Regions from separate parts of the Homo sapiens genome. Here region 2 is linked to region 1. The links are contacts of gene promoters, found by promoter capture Hi-C in blood cells and fetal thymus (Javierre and others, 2016). All regions are on one chromosome and are shown on one strand. The core of a region is centred on a gene start or on the middle of the fragment in contact, and the rest is flanking DNA. Distances in the headings are between cores, read along the strand shown. Region 1 holds the start of MON2 (MON2 regulator of endosome-to-Golgi trafficking). Region 2 holds the start of ATP23 (ATP23 metallopeptidase and ATP synthase assembly factor homolog).

What was found. The method cuts DNA at HindIII sites, captures the fragments that hold promoters and counts their contacts. A CHiCAGO score of 5 or more calls a contact.
Region 2: the fragment with the promoter of ATP23 here is called in contact with the fragment with the promoter of MON2 in region 1 in 9 of 17 cell types (M2 macrophages, non-activated CD4 T cells, total B cells and 6 more); the score reaches 11.7 in M2 macrophages.

What each region holds. Positions count from the first base shown.
Region 1 is chr12:62,465,175-62,469,123 of GRCh38, forward strand. MON2 (MON2 regulator of endosome-to-Golgi trafficking) reads left to right here and starts at 1,652. Exons shown (of 35, transcript NM_015026.3): 1 at 1,652-2,144. The coding sequence starts at 2,034. RefSeq lists a silencer at 1,354-1,673 and enhancers at 1,704-1,813, 1,809-2,308. The HindIII fragment of the contact is 1,301 bases long and covers 403-1,703 here.
Region 2 is chr12:57,939,725-57,943,258 of GRCh38, forward strand. It overlaps ATP23 (ATP23 metallopeptidase and ATP synthase assembly factor homolog), which reads left to right and starts at 1,843. Exons shown (of 6, transcript NM_033276.4): 1 at 1,843-2,164. The coding sequence starts at 1,978. RefSeq lists enhancers at 1,712-2,521, 2,978-3,147. The HindIII fragment of the contact is 6,393 bases long and covers 1-3,534 here.

The DNA of each region.
Region 1 (3,949 bases), core at 402-2,901:
AAGGCCTGCGGTGTGGCTCACGCCTTTGTAATCCTAGCACTTTGGGAGGCCAAGGCAGGTGGATTGCCTGAGCTCAGTAGTTGGAGACCAGCCTGGGCAACACAGTGAAACCCCATCTCTACTAAAATACAAAAAATTAGCCGGGCGTGGCAGCCTACGCCTGTAGTCCCAGCTACTCGGGAGGCTGAGACAGGAGAATTGCTTGACCCTGGGAGGTGGAGGTTGCAGTGAGTGGAGATCGCGCCACTGCACTCCAGCCTGAGTGACAGAGTGAGACTCCGTCTCCACCCCCCACCCAAAAAAAGCGCCTCGTTTTTACAAGCTCCCTGAGACCTCAAGAATAATGTCTGCCATATATTCCATTTGAACTTTTTTGCTAAATTCACCAGTTTTCATACATAAAGCTTATACCATAGGAGGTGTCAAGTTTCCCAGAAGTTGTGTAATAGGCACAAATGATCAAAATTACTGCCCTAGGAGCTCTCTACTATTACCTCATCTGTCCCCTTTATCCATCCTTGCTTTGCTTCTTATCAGAAGGAAAAATAAAATAAAATTATTTAGCTTACAAAGTAGCTCTGTTACAGCCAAACAGCGCTATCCACTGACAATCTCATGGCTCACTGTCTTCCATCATGTCATAAGCTCAGCTGTCTGAAGGTGTTGGTTTCTTCATCTCTACTGTTTCTGGTTTTTCCTCCCTCATTTTCTGCTTTCTGACCAGCAGCTGCAAAATGTCTTGGGGAAAAAGTAGACCAACCTGGATCTTGGGGAAATACAGATGAAGATTTTTCTGTTTGGCTTTTGCCTCATATTTATTTGGCACTTCAGACCTGATGAAGGCTTTTATGTATCTGTGCCTTATTTGAGCCTCGAAACTCTGATTTTATAATAGAAGGGTATTCATTCAACAAGTATGTACTGATTACCTGCTATATGCCAGACACTGTTCTAGGTGCTGGAGATACACAGGAAACAAAATAAGATTTAAAAAGAGGAAGAACCGGCAGCCCAACTCGCGAAACTCTCCTTTTAGCTGGGAGCATCTGCCAGTAAAGGGGCCGGGACAGATCTCGTAGCGCCTGGTAGGTGATTGGAGGAATTTTGGCTTTTACTTTGAGTGAGATGGGAGGCCAGCGGAATGCGTGGAGCAGAGGGTAGTCTCATTTTAGAGATTAGGAAAATAAGAGGCTACCCCACAGTAAGTGCACCAGTTGCGTTTAAAGAAAAAAAATGTATATTAACAGGAGGTAGCCACTGATTTGGGGCCACTAGTCCAGAGATTCGAAATGAAGCGGGAGGAGACACGTTAAGATTAATCTACAGGGAAACAAATTATTTACACCGAAATACAATTTAACACAAACATACGCAAAGAGATATGCCAAGGAGTACTCGGGGGCTCTGTTCAGGCACTTGTTAATGAAAACGAAGCGAATCTTGACGCCTTAAACCCTGTCTAGCCTACTTGATTCCGGGGGTGGGGCTGTGGGAATCGCTGCCCACCCGGAATCCCGCCTGCCCCGAGCATGGCCAAGCCCCAGCCCCGCCCCGCCGACGGCCTGCCGCCGGGGTTGGCCGCGGCGGTGGCGGAGGCCACGGTACCCGGAAGTGCGGCTGACGTGTCCCGGCAGCGCTCGGAATTGTGGGCGACTCGGCTAATGGCGTCGGCGAGTCTTAGGGGCCTGGGGAGCTGGCGCTGAAGCTTCTTGCCAGGTTGGCTGGTGACACCCGGTGTGGCTGGGCCCCGCGGCAGCGGAGGGACCTGCCCGCCTTGTGGGTTTCTCGGCCAGAGTCGGCGGAGCCTAGCGGGACGGTGCGACTGCGGGGGGCGCCTCCGAGAAAAGCCAGAGGTGTTGCGGGGAAGCTGCTGGGGGACGCTCGAGCAGGCTCCGGGTTCGCAGCCCAGGGCCCAAGAAGCGGGCTGCTGAAGGACCAGAGACACCGGGAGGGAGCTGCCTGTGGCCCTAAGGAGCTGACCGTGCCAGAGCTTGTTTGTACCTCTCGGAAATTGGCTGGGACCTTGGAGGATCATGTCCGGCACCAGCAGCCCCGAGGCGGTGAAGAAGCTGCTGGAGAATATGCAGAGCGACTTGCGCGCCTTGTCACTGGAGTGCAAGAAGAAATTCCCACCTGTCAAAGAGGTAAGCTTCAGGTGACGTCAGGAGAAGGCACTGTGAGCATGCCTGGTCCTGTTAGACTCAGTGCTTCACCCCAGTTTCCAGTCCTAATTTTCATTCAGGCCTCACCTTTCCAGATTTGTGAGTCGGTGGGTTGTTCCACAAGGGCTTTTTATAGTTTCCACTGGAGAGGGCTGAGGCACTTTGATTTTCTCCCCTCTCCTGTCCTCCCAGTTTAGGAGTGAAGTTCATGAAGTGAGCCTATTCAGTTAATCCAGCTAGGTGTACTGTGCACTAGCCTATTCTGGCCTTTTTCTTACTTGAAACTGGCCAAACCAAAATTGAAAAACTTGTTTGTTGCTCCCCGAAACGAGTATCCACCCATCTTGTTGAAACCTGTACTCCTCACGTTTATGGCATATCACTGAATTGGAAACAATTTTCCTTCTGGTATATATCATTCAGCTTAACTCTGTATCAATCCTTTGACGTGTTAATAAACTATCCAGAGCCACCTAATTTATGAAGAATATTGAAGATCCACATAATCATGTTAAACCTTGTTATGAGCAGTACTGTAGTGGGAAGTTGGGCTTGCAGTCAGAGCGAATACACCTGAATTTAGTTCCAGCAATAAATCTTAACCTCTTTGAGCTTCGGGTTTTTTTTTCCAGCTGTAAAATAGGGTTAAAGGATGGTTTTATATTATGTATGGGAAAGATGTCAGAGCAGAAGGGTATTATTAAAGAGATCCCAGTAAATAATACATGGAAATTTAATTCTCCAAATAGTTCTTGAGGTGAAATATTTAACATTTGGTTACTATTTGCTTTTTCTCTTAAAATGCCATTTTAATTCTCTAAAAAAAAAAAACAAACAAAAAAACCCACCAAAAACAGGCCCGGCTAATTTTGTATTTTTAGTAGAAACAGGGTTTCTCCATGTTGGTCAGGCGGGTCTCGAACTCCCGACTTCAGATGATCCCCCTGCCTCGGCCTCCCAAAGTGCTGGGATTACAGGCGTGAGCCACAGCGCCCGGCTGTTTTTATTTTTATTCCTATTTAATGTAGTTTGTTTTACCTGCAATTTCATTTACTCTTTGCCCTAAAAATTCACCGAGGGATTTCATATTTACATACTTATTTAAATATATCTTTATTATTATGAAGATTATGTAATTAGAACTTGACCAATAAATTTTGGATTTTAGGCTTGTAAGGAATATTGACTTTTCTGTAAGTGCATTGGTTTTATCAGTTTTCAACAAACTCCATCTTGTATTTCTTTAATAAAGTATTACCCAGTGATGGAAACCAGATGTGCCACTTTTGGAAAGATGGCTGTTACGATATGTTTTATTTCACATAGTCAATAGTCTGTTTTGATATTGATTTTCATTTTTTTTATATCCTCTGTTGAAAGTTATAACAAGTAAATCTAAAGAATTAGGCTGTTTTAGAGAATTTTAAAGAATTAAGTTGTTTTAATTATAAGAGAAATGCTCTCATTTAGAAAATATCAAACACTATTTTGTAATTTCAACAATAATTTGTAGAACTGACTTCGCAGTTCTAATAATTCATACAAAAACTGTGGTTCCTCTATAGGCTGTTGTGGTCTAGCTTGGGAATTTAATTGCCATTTATTACATTTTTTTGTTTTGTTTTTTGATTTTGGAAATGGGGTCTCTGTGGCCCAGGCTGGAGTGCAGTGGTGCGATCTGCAACCTCGAACTCCCTGGCTCAGGTGATTCTCCCACCTCAGCCCCCTGAGTTGCAGCGACTACAAGTGCATACCACCACGACAGGCTAATTTTTCGCCTTTTTTTT
Region 2 (3,534 bases), core at 593-3,092, 4.5 Mb before region 1:
GTCTTTTGCAGCAACATGGATGGAGCTGGGGGCCATTATCCTAAGTGAAATAACTCAGAAGCAGAAAATCAAACACCCCATGTTCTCACTTATAAGTGGAAGCTAAAGACTGAGTGCACGTGGACATACAGAGGGGAATAATAGACACTGGGGACTCCAAAAGTGGGGAGAGTGGGAGGGGAAGGGTGAGGGTTGAAAAATTAACTATTGGGTACAATGTTCACTGTTTGGGTGATGGGTACACTAGAAGCCCAGACCTCACCACTACACAATATATCTGTATAATAAACCTACACATAAACCACCTGAATCTATGTATTAAAAAAGAAAGCATGAAAAAAATCCAAATAGTATTTCAAATGTATATAGGCTATGGTCCATTTCTAGGCATATCTAGCCTGCCTTCAGTATTCCAAACTAATCACACTGAATTGTAATGGCTTAGTTTTCCATATGTGTGTTTTAGTTCAATAACTGGATTGAAAGCTAGTTGTGTGGTCCTAGATAAATTATTGAATTTTGCTGAGCCCACTTTATCTGCAAATTAGAGATAATACTTACTTTGCAGGGTTGTAGTGAGGATTGGAAATAATGTATCCAAGGTGAATTTAATTAAAAAGTAGTTACTTTTTTTTTGACTTCTGGCTTTAATAGTCTATGTACATAGGAGTTGTTTGTATTTTTATAATATTCCAGATGAATGACTATCCTAGCATCCCACTCAATTTAGATATTGAGCATCTATGACACATAAAGCACTGTTCATAACCCTAAAGGCCTGCTGAGCCTATATTTTTCAGATATGTTTCTTACATAAACCACATGCTGCTCTTCATCTTTAGCAATTTTCTTAGTCATGTGTTTCCTCAGTCTCTTACACCTTGCCTGGCCCATCATAGTAGGTGCTGAATAAATGTGTGAGCTGAGTGGAATAATTTAGTAGGAAAAGAGAAACACACAAATTGGATAAAACCTGGCAGGCTACGATGAAAATGATTAACAGGTACAAAGTGCTTTGTACATTGGGAGATCAGGAGACATTAATTTTGATTAAGGTATCTGGGAATGCCCTGTGGAGTAGGCAGATTTGACCTGGGCCCCAATCATAGGGGCTGAGGCAAGGAGCTTAAAGATGGAAATGACAGTATGAGTTAAGGCTGAGAGGTAGAAGTAAACAGGGTGCGCTTTGTTATCAGGGAGTTATTGGTGGGGGGTGGGGCAGAAGAGTAGGGTAAACGAATGGGTACAGGTGGGAAGAAAAAATGTAGTTGGTTCCTACATTTTGAGGATTTTGATGTGACTAGTCATTCTTTATAGTTTTAAAACGTTTCTGAAAAACACTGCTTTCAATATGGCCAGAGGCATCTTTGGGCAGAGTGGATCTGAGGGATGGCAGGGGTCGGGAAAGTGGCGGGCCAGAAATGACAACTGGCTTGCCCCGGAAGAAGGCAGGGAGTGGGAGGATGGCCGAGACCTTCGGCGGCACAAGAGCAGTTAGTGGCCAATATTCGCCCCGAGGTGAGGAAGGAGTGTCTGCGAGGAGGCGGGACACCCTTAGAGCTCAGCAGGCAGCAGGAAGCTGCAGAACAACGCTTATAAAGACATGTCACCCACACTGGGAGGGCAGCAGCGAAATCCGCGGCAGCCGGGTTGTTACAGCCTTTGAGGGAAGTCGCAAGACCCAGCTCCGCCCAACAGCATCGGGCCCCGCGCCCCGCCCCATGCCCTCGCCCCGCCCCTCATCCCTCGCCCCGCCCCTCGCCTCTCGCCCCGCCCCTCGCCTCTCGCCCCGCCTCCCGCGCTCCCCGTCAGGTTCAAAGCCCCCTCCCGCCTAACGTCTTCAGCCCAGCCAGGCTGCCCTTCTTCCCTGCGGAGGGAGGGCCTGGGCGGTCGCGTTGGCGGGAGGGAGGTTACCTTTCCCAGTCTCGCTCTGGCCGCCTGAGCCAGGAGGAAGCAGCGGCGAGGTCTGCGGGAGGCATGGCGGGAGCTCCGGACGAGCGCCGGCGGGGCCCCGCGGCAGGGGAGCAGCTGCAGCAGCAACACGTCTCTTGCCAGGTCTTCCCCGAGCGTCTGGCCCAGGGGAATCCCCAGCAAGGGTTCTTCTCCAGCTTCTTCACCAGCAACCAGAAGTGCCAGCTTAGGCTCCTGAAGACGCTGGAGACAAGTAGGAGCCATGACCTGGAGGCTGTGGTTCCACAGAATGGGTCTGAGACCGGGTGGGCGAGGAAGGGCCTGGGCAACACCTGGCCAGGGGCTTCAGGTTCAGCACAGAGTCTAGACAGACTGGGCATCATGGGGGCTGGGTTGGGAGCCTGAGGCTCAGTTTCCCCACTAGAGGTGGCGCTGAGACCCTTTTCGTCGCTGTTTTTGGCTTGTGGAATGAATTTGTCTGCCCTTTTTTGTCACTCACTGTTGTGACAGATCCTCCGATTTCTTACATAAGTTATGCAGCCACACTGTGACTTCAGGGTAAGGGTGAGGCCAAGTTTTAAAGTGCCAGCCAGGTTAATTAAGGCACACAAAGGCTGTAAAAATGTAAAAATGTAATTAAGGCATACCAAGGCTGTAAAAATATAAAAGCAGTTTTGCAAACCTACCGTTCCTTGGAAGTGGTTCATGCATGAATGGGCTTCAGAGCGTAGAAATCCCTGAAATGGTCTGTGAAATCGTGTGTATGTGTGTGTGTGTGCCCCTAAGTGCATTTTTTTTTTTTTTTTGAGACGGAGTCTCGCTCTGTCGCCCAGGCTGGGGTGCAGTGGCGCGATCTTTGCTCACTGCAAGCTCCGCCTACTGGGTTCACGCCGTTCTCCTGCCTCAGCCTCCCGAGTAGCTGGGACTACAGGCGCTCGCCACCACACCCTGCTAATTTTTTGTATTTTTAGTAGAGACGGGTTTTCACCGTGTTAGCCAGGATGGTCTTGATCTCCTGACCTCGTGATCTGCCTGCCTCGGCCTCCCAAAGTGCTGGGATTACAGGCGTGAGTCACTGCGCCCGGCCCAAAGTGTATTTTTTTTTGGTCGGGGGAGAGAGTTAATAGCTTCATCATATTCTCAAAGAGGCCAACGACCCCACAAAGGTTAAGAACTGCTGTGGGTTAAACAGGGACACAACTGCCCATTGACAAATTTCTCTCCCGTCCCAGAGACATTGCACTAGAGAAGATTTCTTAATTCCTTTACATTGACATAGACTTCTTAAGTTTACTTTCAGATACATTCAGAAAATTAGTCTTAAACATACTTGTCCCAAAGCAAGGTTACTATTTCATAGCTAGTCAGTCACAGTTCAAAAGTCAACCACCGAAAGATTTTCCAACCTTCTTGGGATTACCTGCTTGTAGAGACTCAGGGAGGTAGGAGGAGGAAGGGGAGTTGAGGGTAAAAGGGGAGAGAATGATGATATTGTATTTACTGTACAAATATGTATTGAGTGCCTCCCAGGTTCTGGTGGGGGAAGTAGAAAGATGAGTTAGCACCCTGCCTTGAAGGTGCTTCAAAGTGGAATAGAGTGGAAAGAGTATGGGTTGCAGAGTT